7 separate regions of the Homo sapiens genome follow, and all the other regions are linked to region 6. Evidence: promoter capture Hi-C in 16 types of primary human blood cells and fetal thymus (Javierre and others, 2016). All regions are on one chromosome and are shown on one strand. The core of a region is centred on a gene start or on the middle of the fragment in contact, and the rest is flanking DNA. Distances in the headings are between cores, read along the strand shown.

Evidence for each region. The method cuts DNA at HindIII sites, captures the fragments that hold promoters and counts their contacts. A CHiCAGO score of 5 or more calls a contact.
Region 1: a fragment that was not itself captured here is called in contact with the fragment with the promoter of SP9 in region 6 in 3 of 17 cell types (total B cells, naive B cells and naive CD8 T cells); the score reaches 17.4 in total B cells.
Region 2: a fragment that was not itself captured here is called in contact with the fragment with the promoter of SP9 in region 6 in 1 of 17 cell types (fetal thymus); the score reaches 12.4 in fetal thymus.
Region 3: the fragment with the promoter of HOXD-AS2 here is called in contact with the fragment with the promoter of SP9 in region 6 in 4 of 17 cell types (total B cells, naive B cells, naive CD8 T cells and 1 more); the score reaches 20.3 in total B cells.
Region 4: a fragment that was not itself captured here is called in contact with the fragment with the promoter of SP9 in region 6 in 2 of 17 cell types (total B cells and naive B cells); the score reaches 17.7 in total B cells.
Region 5: a contact is called between a fragment that was not itself captured here and the fragment with the promoter of SP9 in region 6, in 2 of 17 cell types (naive B cells and total B cells). The highest score is 7.5, in naive B cells.
Region 7: a fragment that was not itself captured here is called in contact with the fragment with the promoter of SP9 in region 6 in 2 of 17 cell types (total B cells and naive B cells); the score reaches 13.7 in total B cells.

What each region holds. Positions count from the first base shown.
Region 1 is chr2:176,117,641-176,120,340 of GRCh38, reverse strand. It overlaps HOXD10 (homeobox D10), which reads right to left. Exons shown (of 2, transcript NM_002148.4): 2 at 404-1,387. The coding sequence ends at 1,110. Among named protein-coding and RNA genes, the nearest start is that of HOXD10, 2.2 kb to the right of the region's middle. The HindIII fragment of the contact is 2,499 bases long and covers 36-2,534 here.
Region 2 is chr2:172,970,040-172,972,739 of GRCh38, reverse strand. All of the region lies in intron 10 of RAPGEF4 (Rap guanine nucleotide exchange factor 4), which reads right to left. Among named protein-coding and RNA genes, the nearest start is that of MAP3K20, 100 kb to the left of the region's middle. The HindIII fragment of the contact is 818 bases long and covers 918-1,735 here.
Region 3 is chr2:176,135,772-176,138,471 of GRCh38, reverse strand. HOXD-AS2 (HOXD cluster antisense RNA 2) reads left to right here and starts at 1,374. Exons shown (of 3, transcript NR_038435.1): 1 at 1,374-1,851. LOC401021 (a long non-coding RNA gene) reads right to left here and starts at 1,860. Exons shown (of 2, transcript NR_148241.1): 1 at 1,473-1,860. The HindIII fragment of the contact is 4,739 bases long and covers 1-2,700 here.
Region 4 is chr2:176,154,691-176,157,390 of GRCh38, reverse strand. It overlaps HOXD3 (homeobox D3), which reads right to left and starts at 84. Exons shown (of 4, transcript NM_006898.5): 1 at 1-84. RefSeq lists an enhancer at 1,621-2,124. The HindIII fragment of the contact is 3,118 bases long and covers 1-2,700 here.
Region 5 is chr2:176,068,067-176,070,766 of GRCh38, reverse strand. No RefSeq gene overlaps it. Among named protein-coding and RNA genes, the nearest start is that of EVX2, 15 kb to the left of the region's middle. The HindIII fragment of the contact is 4,486 bases long and covers 1-2,700 here.
Region 6 is chr2:174,333,543-174,336,242 of GRCh38, reverse strand. SP9 (Sp9 transcription factor) reads right to left here and starts at 1,289. Exons shown (of 2, transcript NM_001145250.2): 1 at 1,130-1,289; 2 at 1-136. The coding sequence starts at 1,150. LOC102724194 (a long non-coding RNA gene) reads left to right here and starts at 1,267. Exons shown (of 3, transcript XR_427194.5): 1 at 1,267-2,503; 2 at 2,618-2,686. The HindIII fragment of the contact is 13,141 bases long and covers 1-2,700 here.
Region 7 is chr2:176,173,714-176,176,413 of GRCh38, reverse strand. HAGLR (HOXD antisense growth-associated long non-coding RNA) reads left to right here. Exons shown (of 3, transcript NR_033979.2): 3 at 1-2,700. Among named protein-coding and RNA genes, the nearest start is that of HAGLROS, 3.1 kb to the left of the region's middle. The HindIII fragment of the contact is 2,951 bases long and covers 1-2,700 here.

The sequences.
Region 1 (2,700 bases), core at 36-2,535, 1.8 Mb before region 6:
AAACCAAAGAGGAGAAAACACACAAATGGGAAGCTTTGAGGAGAAAGTGGCTTGGGGTATAGGCTTACTTACCAGGTTCAGGCCAGAGGAAAGCTCACACCCATTGAGAGCGCAATTATGTTACTATCACTGGGGACTGGGAAAGGAAAGAGGAGACTCCCCTTCCTCCCAATTATGAAAACTTCACTCTCAAGCTAGCTTATAATTCCTCTCCCCCAACCACTGCCAAAATCCAACACCCTAGGCCTCCTCCAGCTTTTCTCCCCCATCTCCCTTCCCCTACTAGTCTATCACTCCCCTGCCCAAATGCCCCAAACAGGGAGTGTAACCAGAAGATAATCTCACCATAGGCTTTCATTTCCACCATAACATATTTCCATTTCAGAAAGCAGAGGGAGTGAACTCATTTCCAGAGTTTATTGCATTATACATGCGACCAGAACATGCACAGAAAGGACAGGTTGCTGTTGTACTTCTACCAAACCACAGATGCACCACAAGGGAAAGGCTACAAGGCATAAATCGCCAATATCCCATCTCACCAAGGACAACTGCTAAATTCATTTGTGAAAAGATACATTGTAATGTGCTTTTTAAGTCCCCCTCCCTCCAACTTGTGGGTTTTCTTAATCTTTTTTTTTTAAATATATATGTCATTTTTAAAGTACTGGATGTATTCAAAATGCCATGAGTTCATGGACTAACCACACACATAGACCTTTTGTGTTAGGAAAGACATGAAAAAGTCACATTGCTGGATGGATGGATGGATGGATGCTCTACAGTTCCAATAAGTTAAGACCCAAATGAAAATGCGCAATAATAGTTACCCTGCATTACGATGAAAAAATAATAAATTACACGTGCTAAGTTTTTATATATATATATATATATATATATATATACTCATAGGGATTACAGATCACTTGCAGCACGAACATAATGACCCCAAAGTCACATTCTAGCAGGAAAACAAAATACAACAAAACAACAAACAAAGAGCGGTGAAGGTTTTGTTTCCGCTTTCCCAGTCCTCCAGCACTGGGCCCTGGAACGCGGTGCCCCCTCTCCAATCCTGGCCTCTGACCGGCCTCAGACCGGCCTCAGACCTAAGAAAACGTGAGGTTGGCGGTCAGTTCTCGGATCCGGTTCTCTCGGCTCATCTTCTTGAGTTTCATTCGGCGGTTTTGAAACCAAATCTTGACCTGCCTGTCGGTGAGGTTAACGCTCTTACTGATCTCTAGGCGGCGCTCGCGGGTGAGGTACATATTGAACAAGAACTCTTTTTCTAATTCCAGCGTTTGGTGCTTAGTGTAAGGGCACCTCTTCTTTCTGCCACTCTTTGCAGTGAGCCAATTGCTGGTTGGTGTATCAGACTTGATTTCCTCTAACAAAATTAAAGGGAGAAGAAGAAAAAAATCAAGAGGTTTTTTGTTTGTTTGTTTTTGTTTTTGTTTTTGTTTTGGTTTTGGTTTTGGTTTTCGTTTTTGTTTTTTTCTTCAGACTGTTCAAATGTACCCTTGGCCGTGACCCTGCTGGCAGCCAGGCCGCTTTGGAAAATGCTAGTATTAAACATTACTCACATGAAGTGGGCCTTGGAAGGGAATCTTACATTGATGCCACATTACTTAAATGACATGATGGCAGGACAGTCTGCATTTGGGTTCTCGCTCTCTCTTTCAACTTTCTCACTTGTACAAAACATTAGTAGAATAGTAAACTTTCCAGATCTCCCCAGCAACATTCTAAGGGTTCAGCTCCTAACAGGGACGGAGGGGAATACGCCACGACCTGGACAAGCCTACCAACCCCACTGCTGCCTCAGGTCCCCAAATCTGCCACTTCTTCCCCACCTCTCCTAGGCAGTCAGGAATCCTGACAGTCAGGTTTATAGGTGCCCATTCTCTTTCAAAAGATAAATGGGGAAGCGAGACACCTTCCCCCACCTTGCCTGGGTATTGTTGCATTCCCCAGAATTTCCTTAATTTTCATGTCTTCTTGCCCCCACACTAAAGCATTCCCCCAGAAAGGGAGCCCCCTACTGTGGCCCACCTCTAAGCACTGGGGGAGAGGAGGAGGGTTCCTTCTCAAAAAGCCAGATCCCTGGCTCTTTGCCTTAGCCCAGCCCTAAGGCTGGCCTTGCAGGGAGGGCAATGCGGGTTCCACTCTCCCCCTCCGCCTTTGCCCTCTTTGCCGACGGATTGCAAAGACTGCAGCACTTTTCCTAAACAAAGCCAAGGTTACCTAGCCCAGCAAAGGCAGTAAGCCCTGTTTCCCAACTCAAGCACCAACCAGCCCAGCCATCTCTTTCCCCTCACCACCCCCAAGCTCGCAGGATGCGGGGTGCATACACTTGAACACGAACACGGTGCCCTGGATCACCTTAACATGATCATTGGGCTCAAGGCAAAACTGGAACTGCAAATCTGAGCAGGAGAAAAGAGGCTCTGTGGTCGTGTTTATGAGCCGCAGGTCTCCTTTGCGCTCTTTTGTTGTGTTCAGGTCTAGCTCAGGAAAAATAAAACCGGCAAGCTTTTCCTCTGCCCGGGCGCCATCAGCGTGGGGCCAGGACTGGCGGAGAGGGCCAGGGCAGCAGGGGAGAAGCGGGGACTATCTCAGGGCTGAGATCACCCCTCTAAAACCAGGCGGAGCAGCACCTGCCAAGTCGGGCTCCGGCTCGGCGCTGGGCACCCCGGCACT
Region 2 (2,700 bases), core at 77-2,576, 1.4 Mb after region 6:
AGTTCATCCTCCCCTCTCCTGAATCTTAATCATAAAGGTAGCAATCCAATGGCTGGTTTCAGGCCATGTGGATATGAGGAATAAGAATAAATTGCTTTCATGGGGAGAGGCAGAGAAATGACCTACTTAATGCAATCATTTATTCAGGTAAATTCTACAAGCTTTCACTTGTGACGCCAAAATCTTTCCAGTAAAGACCAAGGTGAAGGTCACCATGCAGTGAAGGAAGGATTCGCCGTGACTGTCTTACTTCAGAAGCCTAGGTTCTTTCGGTCGTGCTTTTCTTCTCATCTGATTAACATTTGAGATGAACTTCGTAACTGTGGACATTCTCTTGACACATCCCAGCAGAAATCAAAACCCTAACCACCACCAATTTTAGGCTTGCTAATCTGGAATCCCCCGAAGAAACAAATCCCTCTATAATTACCAGGATTTTAAATTCCACACCCTGGAAAAGAGTTTAGACAAATAAAGATCCTATTAAAACAGGCACTGCTAATTAAGACACAATACACAGGCTCTCACGCGCCCTCTAGAGCAAGTGTGTGGAATCGAACAGCAGCAGGGTAGTCTCCACCCAGCCTCTGCAGGACAGCCTTGCATTAGGGCAGCCAATTAAGGGATAAACAATACCCTCCCCACCCCCGCCCACAGTATTTTGCCTTTATGTCATTTAATCCATCTTAAATTGTTGCCTTTCAACTTTACGCCCTATAGCATATGTTTGATATGAAGCCAATATATCTCACGTTTCCATATTTCTTAATGCCTTAGCAGAGTATGGGCAATAAGAAAACAAACAAAAAAACCATTTCCAGGACCTTTGAACATGCTCTCAGTTTTCAGGAGCAAGGTGTGTTCAGATGGTCTCTTCAAGACAACAATGATACTGGCAATTCTTGACCAACGAAGCTTGTTTTCTTTCCGTTTAAGTAAAATTAAATAGTAACTCCAAAGATTATTAGCAGATCAAAAAAAAAATGGGGTATGTGTGTACGTGCATGTAGAGTTGGACTGTCTGTCTCCTAAAATTAGATTCCTTACTTTTCACTTTCCCATCTCTCAGAGCTCTTATTCCAGCAGAAAGAGTCAAAAGAAGAAACTGCCAGCCCAATTCCAATGTTTAAAAAGTTTCAAAAAACCTAGGGAGATGGGAAAAATCCCAAGGGCAACTGAAATATTAATTTATCACATAAAATAAACGAACTCAAGTTTGTGTGTTTCTGACCCAGTTGGAAGATTCCCCAACTTCTAACAATTCTCTTATATATACATATATTTCTCTCTGCTCGGGCCCAAATGACTTTTCTCTTTCTCAACTTACTTAGGCTTCTACTGTTAGGCATTTTCAGAACTGCAGACCTAAATTTTGATTTGGGAAACAGTGTCTACTTAACTGTCCTCCCAACTTTAGGCTGGTCTCTGATAGACCATCCTGAACATTGGAACCTATGTCTCACTTTACTTGGAAGGAGTGGTTGGAAGGCTTGTACAGCAGAGCGTCCTGTCTCCTTGAAGCCTCTTTTTTATCCACAGTTGGCCTCAAGTTTACAATACTCTGTTTACCTAGTCACTCCAGATCCTTTTACTCATATTTCTCTAACCAAAGTACCTGCTCAAAGAAAGCCAAAATGCACATTTCTACTGGTAAGAGTACCCATTATATCTACTTGCTATAGGGCAACCTCTTGTTTTTAGATTTATAAACAAAGCAAAATCAAAACAATAAGCTTGGAGAGCTCATTCAGTGTTTGATGGCCCTGTCTCAGAGCTACAACAACAGCACCGTCAAACTGTCATCGTTCTGTAGCACTTGCCCCCAAATGCCATCCAGGTCTGCACCTGCGAAACCAGGACGGGCATTGTGAGTCACTCTGTCTGCCACCACATAAAAAGCTAATTTCACATGCAGAATGTATGTGTTTTTTTTCAATACCAATAGCAACAAGAGTGTGCCAAAAAATTTCCCCTGAAGCTCTATTCTGTTTTTTAAACTACAGAACATTCTTTCATAGTTTGACAGTTAAAATGCTGCAGTTAATGTAATAAACAGAGAATTTTTCTAAGTAGCCTGTCAAAACAAGTGACACTTTTTTTTTTTGCTAGCAAGTCTCAGATTCAGAACAATAGGAAGTACCTTTCAAAGCAACATCTTCATTATACAATCAAATTCTCAAAGTAATCTTCTCATCAAAGAATATTGTGTTATTTCTTTCCCAGTAATTATCAGAGTTCTGCAACCTCTCTGGCAGTGGTGACTATTATAAAATGCAGCCGTGCTGAGTTTAAAAGTTGGGGGTCCTGCCCTGGTCAGTATGAAGCCAATGCATCTCATGCCTCCACATTTCTTAATGACTTAGCACTTTCGGCAGTAGAAAGTCAACATTTCCAGGACCTCTGAACATGCCCTCAGTTTCCAGGAGTGAAGTGCTTGGTTGGTCCCTTCAAGGACAGTAGTGATACTGGCAATTCTTGATCAACTAAGCTTGTTTTCTTTCCACTTAAATAAAGTAGTAGCTCCAAAGATTATTAGCAGATCAAAAAAAAAAAAAAAGGGTGTGTGTGTGTATGTACATGTAGAGTTGGAATATCTGTCTCCCAAAATTAGATTCCTTATTTTTCACTTTCCCATCTCTCGGGAGCTGTTATTTCAGCAGAAAGAAAACTGAAGAGTTCCAGAAGTGCCAGCCCAATTCC
Region 3 (2,700 bases), core at 125-2,624, 1.8 Mb before region 6:
TCAATGGGGAATGTTTTTTACCCCGATCAAAGAATGACCTCAAAGGTCATTGTACTGTAGTAGAGAAATAATTACAAAATACAAACACTCCAAATAAAATAACAATCACTCAAGTTTCTTATTTGTAAGTGATCAGAGTTAGTGATCCAGGATAATTTGCAGGCATCAGCTGGCCACAAATCGTGGACCTCCATTTTGAAATGAGCATGATTCCATCATTAATTACGAAAAACACCTTTCCACAAAGATGACATGTTTTGTTCAGAAACTCTTTTATGGCCCACGTTGTTACATTGGAATTTTAAGGGAATAATAAGTTAGGATTTACCACTGGGTGCTTTGGGAACCATACCCTTGCCTTGCGCAGGCAGTCTCATGCGCAATGCGGCAGACTGTCCAAAGGTTTCATTTCACAATGTTCATGAGGGAATAGGCAATAGGATTTGCGAACTGCATCCGCAAGTGCCATTCAAAATCAGTGGGAGAAAATAGCTTTTTTTCTTCTGCAAAGGATTTTCTTTTATGCATATTGTTTCAGTTCAGCAGTTTTGAAGTTGAGGGAAGAATGTTGCAATGTAATATTTATTAGCAGGTGGGAAAAAAAACACAACCCATCAATACATTTAGAGAGCAAAAAGATCTACTCTTTTCCTACTCTGGCAAATAAGAAACACACGATGTTTCAACACAGAGATGTCTTGTATTTCTCAAAGATCTATTGGGTTTTTACCAAGACCTGCACCATATATTCTGATACCATTACCTCCCAAAACATGGATTCATTTTGTGATATAAAAGAATCCAAATTCACCTGACGGATTATCATATGCGGGAAGAGCCTATCTTGAGTTGCTTAAAAATTTCTCTAAGAACTAGAGAAACATTTAAAAATATTTAAAATTCCATCTCATACAACACAAGGCCCAATAAACCATCAACCCTAGAAATTAACCAGCATCAGTCACTAAAGCCTAGATTCAAACACCAAGCACATCCTAGAAACAGAGAATTCACCCCACCCCCACCCAAGCCCCAACCCTCAAAAAACACCTGTTAGCCTCCCAGGAACCTCTGGCCACGGCCACAGGTAAACCACAAAAACCACAGCTCTATATAAAATGCCTTTAGTGACCCCCAGCAAAGTGGAGATGTTCAGTAGTAACCCGTCTATACACTTTCCTAGGGTAGGATTGAGGGGCTCTCCATCTAGGCAGTGGGATCCTGTCTGTGGCTACCCGTATCTCAGAATTTTTGAAATAATACTGCCCCCTTAGACTTCTGAACCCAGCCGGACTCCACCCCAGGCCCCAGGGGACGCCCTAGGAACGAAGTGATTGGGGGAAGGGGCTTAGACAGCGACCCCCCACTTCCCCGGGAAATGTAGGGGAGCAGCCGGACTGAGCTGCCCAAGGGGGTCGGCGCCCCAGGCTTCTTGGTGGCATGCTGGGGAGCGGGGAGGGGGCGATTCTTACCCGAAGGCTGCCGAGCTACAGGCGGCGGTCGGTCCGGGCGTCTGCTGTAATCCACTAGGCGCTGCCCGGCTGCGCTCACTCTCGGACGCAGAGACCCGCTCATGTTGGTGAAGAAGCCGCGCCAGAACCGCGCGGCTGCAGTCACCTCGAGCAGGCCGGCTGCTCCTGGCAGGCGGTGTCGGCGCCGGCGGGGGACTCGGCGCCCAGGGCCCCTTCCAGGCCCTCCCTCGCCGGGCTCCCCACCAGCTCCGGAGGTGGCGGCGATGCGGACCGAGTGAGCGGCGGTGGGGCCAGGCCGGGCGCCGGGCGGGAGCCGAGGCCGCGGCGGACTCCGCAATCCCGCAGCCGGTGACTGGAGCCCACCTCTGCAGAGACAAAGGTTAGAAAAAGAGGGGGTGAGGCTCTGGGAAAGCAGAATGCGGGGGGAAATTCGCCGGGGAAATCAGGAAAAAGGCCGTGAAGGCGAGCGGCGCCTGCACATGACCAGCCGCAGCCAATGACGACCGCAAATAGGTCATAAAAAGGTCTATTACCAAGTTGTAAATTTTCTTCAAACAAAAAGGAATTTACTGCAATTCCTTGCGGATTTTGCACATACAGCTCGCAAGCGCCATGTTTTTTCCTCTTCTGCTTTCTCTCTCCCCCGCCTCCTCTCTTCCTTCTCCTCCTCCTCTCTCTCTCCATTCTCTCTCTCCTTCCTCCCTTCTCTTTCTCTGTCCCTCTTCACCTTTCCCTTTTTCTTCCCTTCGTGGTTCTTCCCTCCCTCCCCGCCTCCTCTGTTTCTTTTTCTAGGATTTATTTGTGTGTGTGCGTGTGTGTGTGTGTGTGTGTGTGTGTGTGTGTGTGTGTTCTTTTCTTTGGTTTGGCTCAAAACCTCTGCGCAGTTGGCCATCGTGAAGGAGGGAAATGAACTCAATGTACTGCTCACGCTCTGGGGAAGCGATCCCCACAGCTACCTCCTCCCATCTCTCACCCTGTGCTAGTCACTTGGCTTCTCCTCCTCTCCCCTCAGGAAAAGGCCTGTCCCCAGAGGCAGCCAACCACTTTCGGTTTCCCCTCCTCCCTCTCATCTTGCAAGCCAGCCCCAGTTACCTTGGGAAGAAAACGAGGGATCTGCAGGCCAAGAAAATGTGCCCCCAACACACCACTCCAACATAAATTGGGGTCCCTCCCATTCCCGGGAGGTTCTGCAGTAGGATAATCACCAACCAGCTTAAAGGCTTCAAAT
Region 4 (2,700 bases), core at 92-2,591, 1.8 Mb before region 6:
CCCCCTGGACGGGTGATATTCTTGGGATCCCTGCACTTTCCAAGTCGGAGAGAGCCCTTTGCGTGGCAGATTAATGACGACTCCGTGTTTCTTAAGGGACGTGCTGAATTAATTATTTCGCCAATCACGTGGTCGGGACTTGTAGAAATCTATTCTTATCATCTTCCTCGCACTTAGAAAATTCTCCGGGTTATGAAAGGCCCTCCCCCGGCTGCCAGCGAGCCCCGGCCGCCCAGCCCGGCGCGGGGGGCAGGGAGGGCTCCCCAACATGGCGGGCAGGCGGGCGGGAAGCGCCGTCCGCCGAGGGTCCCGATTTACTGTACTCTATACTCAGCGGGCTCTGCTATGGACTCGCTTCCTCCTCATCCCTGCCCGCGATTCAATACACACAACGGTATTGATGTATTGGTGGGCACGGGAGGAGCCATTAAGCAGAAGACGGGCAGAGGACAATCATAAAATGTGTCTGAATATTTAAACTTCTGCCTGCGCACTTATAAATACACATGTCCACGCGTCTGGGGCAAGCCCTTCCATATATTAAGGACAGATGTCTGATTTTATGCATTCTGCTCATTTCCTGTCTGGAACAAGCACCCCCATCTATTTTGGGACTCCTGTCTTGGCCCCTTCTTCAAGGCGAGGCCAAGATGTAAAGAAGCCCTTGCGGTAAATGTAGTGCAGGGCACTTTTTATAGTGGGGAGTGTTTATTGTTGCCTGAGGGGTGGAGGGGGCGCGGAAGAAGGAGGGGCAGGTGCTGGAGTCCCCACAGGAGCTTAACAGTACTGGAAAAGTAGAAGCCCAAGAGTGGAGGCCCGGGGGTCAGGTCAGAGCAGCCACCCAGGAGCCTCAGCTCGGCCCAGAACCCAGCACGCTCTCCCTGCCTTAGGGGTGGGGGACCAGTAAGGTGTCTCATCCACCACTTCCCAAAGACTTCCTCTGAGGGCTTCCAGACCAAAAAGGTCTGGGGCCTGGCCCGGGCCCAGCAGAATGCCAACCTGGATCCCCCTATTAACCTGGGCAATTACTTTTTCTTCAAAAAATTAACACCCAACACTCTGTACCCTGAATTCAACCCCAGGCTTCCCAATGCTCACAAAATATGGTGGCCAACTGGGAGTGTGTGTACATTAAGGAGGTGGTAATAATAGAATTGCTAAGCCTTACATGGTTTAACCTTCACACTTTAGGCACCCCCCAAAAAATGGTGCCTAATTTATTGCAGAAAATAATAACTTGTTTATGTTAAATGTTAGCTTTTAGAAGACTTAACAAAGGATGAATGCTTCTGTTAAGGCACCAAACAGGAGGGAGATTTTGCTACACCTTTTATTATTTTAAATATAGATCAATGAATTACATCAAAACTACAAGCAACAATTAGTATAAATAATACTTTAATCAGTGGCAGCAAAACATTGGTCAATTCTATTAAAAAAGCATCTCGTGTGAACAGACATCATGGGCTGACTGACAGTGTCATCTCCCAACAAAAGGCTGCGATGGACAAAGTGAGATGGGAGTCAGAGGAGCAATGTCCTCAGCAAACACTTCACTCTCCCCCTCCCCCAGTCAGGACCCCAACACGGTTTTTGTTTTTGTTTTTAAAACACCAACACAAACACTTCTGGCTCATATTTAAAGGAACAAACTGGAAACAAATAATAGCAAATGGGCATTGGAGCTTTTCCACACCTAGCTTTCTCCAAAGCACGTTCTCAGATGGAAACCCATTTCCTTCCCTGCCCTAAGTGGTTACGGGGCCCTACCCCTTCCCTGGCCCACTCCTGTGGGCCCAAATGGATGCTGGGGTCCGACTGGGACCTCAGGGTTGGGGGCTGCACTCTGGGCCATCCAGGCTCCATTAACATTTCAAAAGAATCCCTCCAAGCTGAGAAGGAGAGCTGAGACTTATAAACAAAGAAGTTGTTTCTCTGATTAAGTTACTTTCCAAAGTAGTGGGGCTATGTTTGAGAAGGAGCTTGGGTTTTCCTCATGAAAACATGTTTCTTGGCTTTCCTCTGGGGCAGGGATGCAGTCAGTTAAGCCTGTGTGGCATTTGGTATGAAACTGGGGGTGAGTAACCTGAACTTCTGAGGTGGGGGAAAATCTATACAACAAATCTCTATTATATATATGTAATTGGATGTTGTGAAAATATATACCTTTTTCCCCTTCTCAAAGAGAAGGTTCAATGTATAGACAGATTTGGGTTTTAGGAAAGCAGCTTAGCAACTTTCCAACTTGCCTAAGGATAGCGGCTCCTTTCAAATGGTACATCCAAAGACTGCTCTCCATGTTAGAGAGGAAAAAAGAAGAGAAGGGTAGTTAGAGTCCAAAAGGTTAGGGGTTTAGAGGTCAGTCCTCCCGGCTGAAATACAGCTAATCAAATAGAAAATTTGTCCTCTGGATGAACCTGATTCTGTAATTTACCCGAACTTCGGTAAAATACCTTTTCAGCTTCTCAACGTGAGGGCGTCAGAAAAAAGACGTCTTGACTATGTATGAACTCTGTGCTTTTTGTCATAGAAACAATGATGTGAATAATGCACGAATATCCATCTTTAATATCCCGACGTGGTGACATTCAAGTATTGCCATGTGCAAGTCTGAGAGCCAGGCTCACCCCAAGGAGAAACAAAGAGCAGTCCCCAGGGTCTAATACAAAAGACCAAGGCTTGGAAGACACTTCAGAGAAG
Region 5 (2,700 bases), core at 151-2,650, 1.7 Mb before region 6:
AGGGGCGGCTCATTGTGTGAGGCAGTGACCCACACTCAGGGTCTGGTTGCTTGGGGTTTCCTATGGGAATGCAGTGTTGGGAAAGGGGGTGTCCAAGAAACTGGGGTTGTAGGGTACTGGTTTCTCCCCTGGGCCAGGTTCTGCTCACATCAATCATCCAGAATCCAGAACTCTTCACAGCCTCTGGATCCATCAAGAAACAAACCCCAAAATAAATGTGAAAGCAATGGCCTGGAGATCGCTCTAGTCCCTGTGCCCTGCAGGGTCTCCAGAGGAGAAAAATGAGGTGGAGGTGGGGGTGGGGCAGAGGTTTCCTGGGAATTCAACTGGATATCCAAGCAGAGAAAAACAAAACAAAACAAAACAAACAAACAAACCCAAAACCATGTGCACAGAGTGAAGGGACTCAGACCCAGAGAGGCCACGAGGACGGTCACAGAATGGTGCTAGTGACAGACTGATGATAGAGGCAGCACAGAGGTTGGGCAGGGGACAGGGAACTGAGGCAGAGGTGGAATAGGGTTGGGAACAGGCTTACACTCAGGGACAACAAGGTCCAAGACTTCAGGGGTGTGTGAGGTGACTACCTCAAGGTGTCCAGGCTCAAGGATAAGGCCAGGATGGAGCTGCTGAGGCAGAGCTGGACAAGCAGTGTTTGGTTACCCACAGGCCTCCAGACCTTAGGAGCCTGGGGGAAATCTTGCAGATTAAGGTTCTAACTGGCCTTCTCTTCTTGCTAAGGGTGCCTTTGCCACTCATACTCTCCAAATGCGAGAGGTTGTATGGCTTTGTGGTTGAAATCTCTGCTTAGCCACTCATTTGTGGTGTGACCACAATCAGGTTGCTTTCTGCCTCAGTTTCTTCATCCCTAAAATAAGAATAGTAAGTCCTCCTTCTCAGGAAGATTGAGTTAATACAGTGTGTTTAAAGCTCACACTAGGGCCTGACAGTAGAGTAAGTTGTATGTATTAGTTGTTCCCAACACTAGGAAGGAGTAAGGAGTCTGAGGACCTGGTCTTGCTCCCTCCCTCTTCTACGCCCATCCACCCTTGCCGGCTGCCCTCTGAGTCCCAGAGGCTGAGACCAGTCCACCAAATGCCTGTTCCCAAGAGCTTCACTTGGTCCGGGCCTGAGGCCAAGGGAGAAGAGGCAGAAGAGGCAAATATTCTGCTTCGACCTGTGCCCGCACAGAGTCAGGCGGTTTAGGGCAGGGTGGGAGGTGCCATGCAGCTGGTGCTGCTTTGGAAGAAGCTGAAAGAAAGGAAAATACCTTATCCTGTATTCATTGTGTCCAGGGCACTGTGCTAGGCATGGGGAAACCAACAGGGAAAGATAAGAAAAATAAATTCCCTTTATTTAATCCTCAGAAAGCTCTTAAGAGTTTCCTATCTGCCTTGTGCATTATGATTCTAATTTTATAACTGAGAAAACAGAAGTGAGAGTGGTTAAGCAAGTTGCCCAAGGTCACACAGCTAAAACATTTGGAATCCAAATGAGATGAGTCTCTCCCTTGGCTCAAGGTCCTCAGTCAGTCCTGTCTTCCACCACCTTCCTCCCAGGGCCCCTGCTGGGAGGGGCCTCAAGCAGAGTTTGTTTGGTGGGTGACTTCGGGAATGAGAAGGGTCATGAGCCCCACTGAGCCCTGTAGGCTCCATTTTGCCTCTCTTCCACACACTCCACTTCTCACCCTCCAAAATGAAAGCAGCAGGATGTTGGGCTCTTCCTGACTGGGGCTCAAGTAATCGATCTATTAATCTCGCTGCATGTTTTCTCATCTGTAAAATGGGCATAATAGAAGCTGTTTCGCTGTGTTGTTGTAAGGCTCACACGAAACAATAAAACCTTTTAAAGTTTGCTTGGCATGTTCAATAAATGGTGGCCATTGTAGTTATTGTTCCTTTGATCCCTGGCCCATGGCAAGCGGGAGGAAGCCCGCTGGGTGGGAGGTAGGGCTTGGGCAAGCTCAAGTGTGTAAGCCCCTCACGCCTGTTTCCTGTCTGAGCCTCCAATGCCACTTTTGAAATTCACGGGAAGGACTGGGACTACGCTTGGCGACAGCGCAAGGCAAGTAGCAGATGTGTGATACCGACCTGCTACAGGGACTTCGGGCTGCGAACGACGTCGCCAACAGTTCACCAAGCGGCCCTCGCATCAAGCGGAACGACGACGTCGTTAAAGCACTGTGGCCCGAGGTTCTGGAGGCGGGGCGAGCCCGGCTGGAAACCTCGCTGCCCACTCCACCAGGAAGCATCCTGGGAGATCCGAAAAAGTGGCCCCGTAAGATCCTGACCTTGGGAGCGAGCAGTTCGTTCGGATTTTTAGGGAACGGGGAGGGTGCAGATGAGGCGGAGTGGCTCATTTCGGGGCCTGGAGCCACTGGCCATGCCCAGAGAGTGCAGGCTGAAACATGTAGATGCTTCTGTTGAAACCTCAGTTTCCCCTCATGGAAAAAAGCCTGTCTATATCTGTCCTCCTTAGTAGGCTCTTGAAAGCCTCCAACAGACTTGCTCCTTGCTGGCCTTACCCAAGTCTTACTTGCCAGGGTCTTGGGCGCTCAGCATGGAGATTGAACACAGATGAACTCTGTGCATTGAGTACTGAAAAGTGGCGGTTGTCACTTCAGAGTTCTAGCCGCCTCTTCGGTGTAACTGGTCGCACCCCTGACCTCTATTCTCCGCTCCCTAAGCCTTCCCCAGAGCG
Region 6 (2,700 bases), core at 40-2,539:
AGCGCTTCCAGGGGTGAAAGCCGCCTTTGGCGAAGGCGCTCGACTCTGGCAGCGTCGTCAGCGGGCTCGTGTTGCCGATCTTGTTGCAGGTCGCCGCCAGCATGGCCAACGGGGTCGTTCCGAAGCGCGGCTCTTCCTAGAGTGGGTGGGATGGGGGAGGGAGCAAGAAGGAGGAGGGCAAGAGGAAGTGGGGGAAGAAACAAAGTGCACCCGTGAGCAGCCTCGTCCCCTGCGGCTGCTCCCGGGGGGTCCTGGCTCCCCGCCTCGCGCCTCCTCCCCACGCGCCCGCGGAGGAGTCGCCGCACCGGGCGCGGAGCAGGGGCGATCACCCGGGCGAAGGTCCAGGCGCCGGAAAGTTGCACTTCGCTGAGGCTATAAATCAAAGATGCCTCCGTGTTCCCCGCTGCAACCCTGCCTACAACCGGACTTGGGTTGTCGCCGTAAACCGGCTCATCTCCCAGAAGACCCCAAGTCGCCCTTCGGGGTGAAGCGCGAAGGTAAACACAGAGACCAGAGACAACAAACACCGGGTGAGGGCGGAGGCGGCCGAAACAGCTGCCAGGGACGGGCGAAACTTGCAGCTCTCCCAGGGTGGCTACGACTTGACTTTTCTTTTTTAATAGAAAACGTTTGGTTTTAAAGTTTACATACACACAAAAACAGCGATTATGAAAACAATAATCCGAGGATAAGCGGCCAGAGACAGATTTCAAAGTCATGGGCGAATTGGGGAGCCGCGGAAATGTAAATGTTTATTAGCGTGACTAGATGGACTGCAAAACGATTAAGACTGTTTTCTGGAAACACCATTGTCGCATAATTGCAACAAAATCCCCAAAGCAATGCGGGGGATGGGGTATAAATCACGAGGGGAAGAAAAGAAACCTCTAGCTTTTTTTTGAAACCAAATGAAAAAGGACTTGATTAAGAAGGCCTTTTCTTGCAAAGGCATCTTTCTGGGTTCCAAAAACTTGGGGAAAAATCAGTCCCAGAAATGTGGAAAGTGCTAATAGAAGCTGAAGCTGCAGTCTAGCAGCAACAGTTTCTCCGGAGCCGCAGACCCCAGAAGCCATAACGAAAAATTACTCCGGTTAAAACAAGCAAATGCGTTGCCGCGCTTGCGACTTACCCCGAGTATAGACGTGGCCATAGCAGGTCTCTGGCTGCGCAGCGAGGCTGGGAGCGGGGCTGAGCCTGGCGGCTGCTCGGAAAAACTGCTTGGGTCCCGCGCGGCTCCCGCGTCCCCGCGCTCGTGCCGAGCGGACTCCAGGCTCCCGCCGGCTAAACTCAGCCTAAGTGCGAGGAGCACCCGCTTTGAAGTGCCGCTGGCTGCGCCTCTCGCCCAATGAGGGCGCAGGCAGAGCAGACCGGAGCTGCCCCGCAGCCAATCAGACGCTCCGAGGGGCCCGAGCCCGGGCTCCCGGCGCGTGCCAGTCAAGTCAGCTAGCTAGGGCCGCGGGGGTGGGGGGGAGTAGTGGGGGATACTTGCGGGGGGGGGGCGAGGGCGGGCTGGGGACTGAAGAAATTACAGTGCAATTAAAAATTTACACTCACGCACCAAGCCAGGTTTAAGTACCAATGAAACCGAGCCACAAGCACCCCCCCACACACAAACCACCCCGAGATGTTGCAAGTTAGGGCTGACAGTCCTACTCGACTCCCCACTTGTAGGAAAGGAGGCAGGAGGGGAGGAGACACCCAGACACAGCCCGCACCAGCAGGGCCCAAGTGGAGACGGAAATGTGAGCCCTCACTTTGTGTGTCCAGGCTTTTGCCTACAGAACACAACTTCAGCTTGTATCTATCATTCTTGCTTGTGATTTTTATCATTTTCGTGTGTCTTCTACCCAATTCCTTATTCCACTAGATTCAATTTCACTCTCACAGTTATACTGGGGAGGGGGCGCGAAGGGACAGCTCCTCCGAGAGGAGCGAAATAGGCCTCTCTGTACAGATCTACATCCACAGATTTGTTGGGAGGGCCTGGAGCCTGCTGCATCCCGCCATTTCCCCCCAGCGGTGTAAGTGACTTCCTAATTGTCGCTCTGGCCTCTGACCCGGGGGGTAATACAAGTGCCACTCACGCTAGAGGCTTCTGGTGGTAATTGAGGGCACCCTTTGTACGGTTTCGCCAGCGCTTAGATACCAGGTTAACCCAGTTGTCAAATATGACTAAACAGTGGGATGTGCTGATTATCTGCCGGGTTTTGCTGTGGGCTGGCATGGGGGTGGGAGGCATCAGCCCATACAACACGCTGCACGAAGCCGCTTATTTTCTCACTGTAACAACTTTGGAAACAGAGACCGGCGCGAGCGGCGTCCGCCCCCACCTCCACCTCCGCTGAAGCTGCAGCTTGCTCGGCTGTTTGTTTAACCCGGTGAAGATTTGCATGTCGCGTTTCATCCTGGAGTGGAGTTTTCTTGTCCCAGCTCCAACCCACTCCCATTCCAGACCACCAGGGCCTAGAGGCTCGTCCGTAGGGCAAGTGCGCTGTTTTAAGAGGTAGGCTCCCCATTAGTGCCCTGCTTTCACGGACGCGCCCGAGAAATCTCTCCAGGACTTTCACCCGGGAGGGCGGAGGACCAGGCCACACGTGGGCGCTTCCACATTTTGCAGGCTGGAAGCATCCTGAAGTCCTCCCTGGACCTTGTCAGTGTGAAAAGAGGCGTCCTCAAGCAGACCAGGGTGCGTCTTCGAGT
Region 7 (2,700 bases), core at 119-2,618, 1.8 Mb before region 6:
AAACCTCAACAGATGGAGAGCCTGAGCTCCCAAGTCCGCAGGCTGAGAAGATGCACTTCACTCAAGGGCCAGTGGGCTGGTACAGACTAGGGAAGAGAAAAGGGACAAAGGCTGCTAGTATAGGTAATCACTATCTTTTAATACTCCTAACACATAGAAATTCGAAAAATCTTGTTCAGCAATGTTAGCAGCCTGTGAGCCTCGGAAACTAATTTGGCTGATGTGTCTCTGATAGGGAGCTTGGGGCTGCACCAAGGGGAAACATTCTCCTCCTGTATTCTCTCCTCTCTCTCGTTTGAAAGCCTGTACAAAGAAATGGTACAAATGGATGGTTAACTTAATGATTCCATCAGAGGCAGATTTTTCTCTGTCAGGTCCCTGGATAAGGTGGAGGTCTGAAAGCCAGGAGACAGAATATGTACTTAATCGCCCTTTCTGACCTGCTTACCAGTGACCAGGACTACTCTCCAGGCCTTTCTTCTGCCACTTCCCCATTCTTCCTGGCTAGTTCAGTTGGGTCTCAGCACTTCAACTCCTGGCTGGATCCTGAGTTTTTCTTGGTTGCAGGGAAAGCTCTCACTGTCTGCATCTCCTTCCCCACCCCCACCTCCCGTTTTGCAGCTGGCCATTCTGGCTGCCTCACAGCTATCCTGCCTTAATTCATATTTGATTGCCTGGACAGAACCACCTAGAATGTCCAGACGACTGCCACCCCTCAGCCATGGGCCTGAGATCCTGCCCTGACCCCTTTCTTCAGACCCCAGGAGGACCCACAATCTCCCTGATCCCCACCTTCCCCAAAGTAGTCTCTAGGAAAAAAGCAGAGCTGGCTAAGGCCTGAGACAGAGCCATTTCTTCCCCTTGGGCAAACGAGGTAGACCCTCCCAGAGACCAATGCCGGAGAGGCCCGGATCCGAGCTCCCTTTATATGGCCTCCCCCATCACGGATCCCGTGGGAAAACCTGACACACAATGGCGCGGCTGCTCCGGGCACCCTCAACCCAGCGCCCTGCGGCAAGGCCTGGAGCAGCCTGGTGGTCTTGGTGCGCTCCCTTTGCCCTCCCCGCAACCCTCTGCGAGCACTCGTCCCAGGAGAGAGACCCTGGCTAGGGTGGAGGTTGCCTCCCGCAAAGGGCGCTGTTGCTGGGGCCTCCCCTCCCCCATTCTCTTGTTTTTCTGCTTCTGAGACTCGGGAGGGAGGCGGCAGGCGCCTCCGCAGCCGATAGAGCAGCTATTGTGACCTTCCCTTGCAGAGCGGGAACCCAGCCGAGTGTGTACCGCCGGCGGTGGCGGGGGAGGAGGCGACTGTGTGTGCAAACCTCAGTCGGAGAGGGGGTGGCGCTGGGAAATAAAGGTTTGCAACCTCAGGCAGTTGGGCCCTTCAGAGGGCGTTTGGTTGTGTTTAGACTCGGTTGCTTTCTAACACTAATTGCAGGCTCAAAAGGAGCGGAATTTATTGCGAAGGCCAAGGCGGCTTGTTTATAATTTATGAAGTTTTAAATGGCTGTGCCGCGGGCCCCAACTTTCTCCTGGGCTGGCAGCCGCGCGGAAACGCGCCCTCCCCCGGCTCGCCGCCCACCCCCACCCACGCCCCTCAGATGAGTCTCACGCCAATGGCAGGAACAGATCCGAGCTATTAGAAGTCTCGGGAACCTCCAGAGATGACAGAAGGTGGCAGATTTGGTCCAAGCCCTCACCCCACTCGAGAGGAGGGCGTCGGGGAAAGCTGTGGCTGCCTGGAGAGGGAGCCCCTGATCCCACACTTCCTTGGAGCCTGAGTGTGAGAGGAAGCTAATGTCAGCCGGGCTAGACACCGTTTAAAGTCTAATCCATGAAACCCTAAGCCGCAAATGACACTTGGGGCTTTGCAGACACCCGCAGACTCAGCAGATACTCCTGCGGTAACACACTGTGCTGGAAAACGCCTGGAGCCATGACACATTACGTATTTTTATTATTATTTATGGTAGGAAGAGGAGATGAGGGAAAATCGGGCTGAATCTAAGCAGCCTGACAATTCAGCTAGTTAATATTTAGCCAGTTAAGAAAGGTGGTTGTAATCCCTGCAAGGCAGTGAGCTCTCCTTTGATTTCTCTAATAGCTTAAAAAATAATTTCTTACAAGACAATTAGAAATTCTGCCTATGGATGCAAATTTCATAGAAAACAATGTTAAGCCTTGAAAGTGGGTAAAATGTGCCTTCGATTGAAGTCATTTATTCTGTTGATACACTTCTACAACATATATATTTTAAACCTGCTCAGATAAAGTGAAATTTAGCAAAAGGATATCCCCTCCCACCCCCAAATCTAACATGCCATTTTAAAAACAGCACAAAGGAACAAGGAAACTAAATATTATTTTGAGCCATCATTACTTAGTGAAATACAAACATCCAAATAGAAACGATTGTTGTTCCACCAGAAGATTAGAAGTTAAATTATTTCCACACAATAGGAATTTCACTTCGTGTCATCGGGGATGTAGTAGGAGTTGCATTATTTGTCAAACCAAATAGAGATGCGTGGGCTGACTTTGCTGAAATACAAAAGAATTGAACCTTATCTGAAGGCGTTTTCTAAGTGGCCCCTCCCATAGAAGCCGGGAAGTTGTCCACCCCTAGCAGAAGCCACATTAATATTTACAAAATGGTTATAAATCCTTGAAGACATTTTTGCCCATTTTGTATAAGAAACAGGA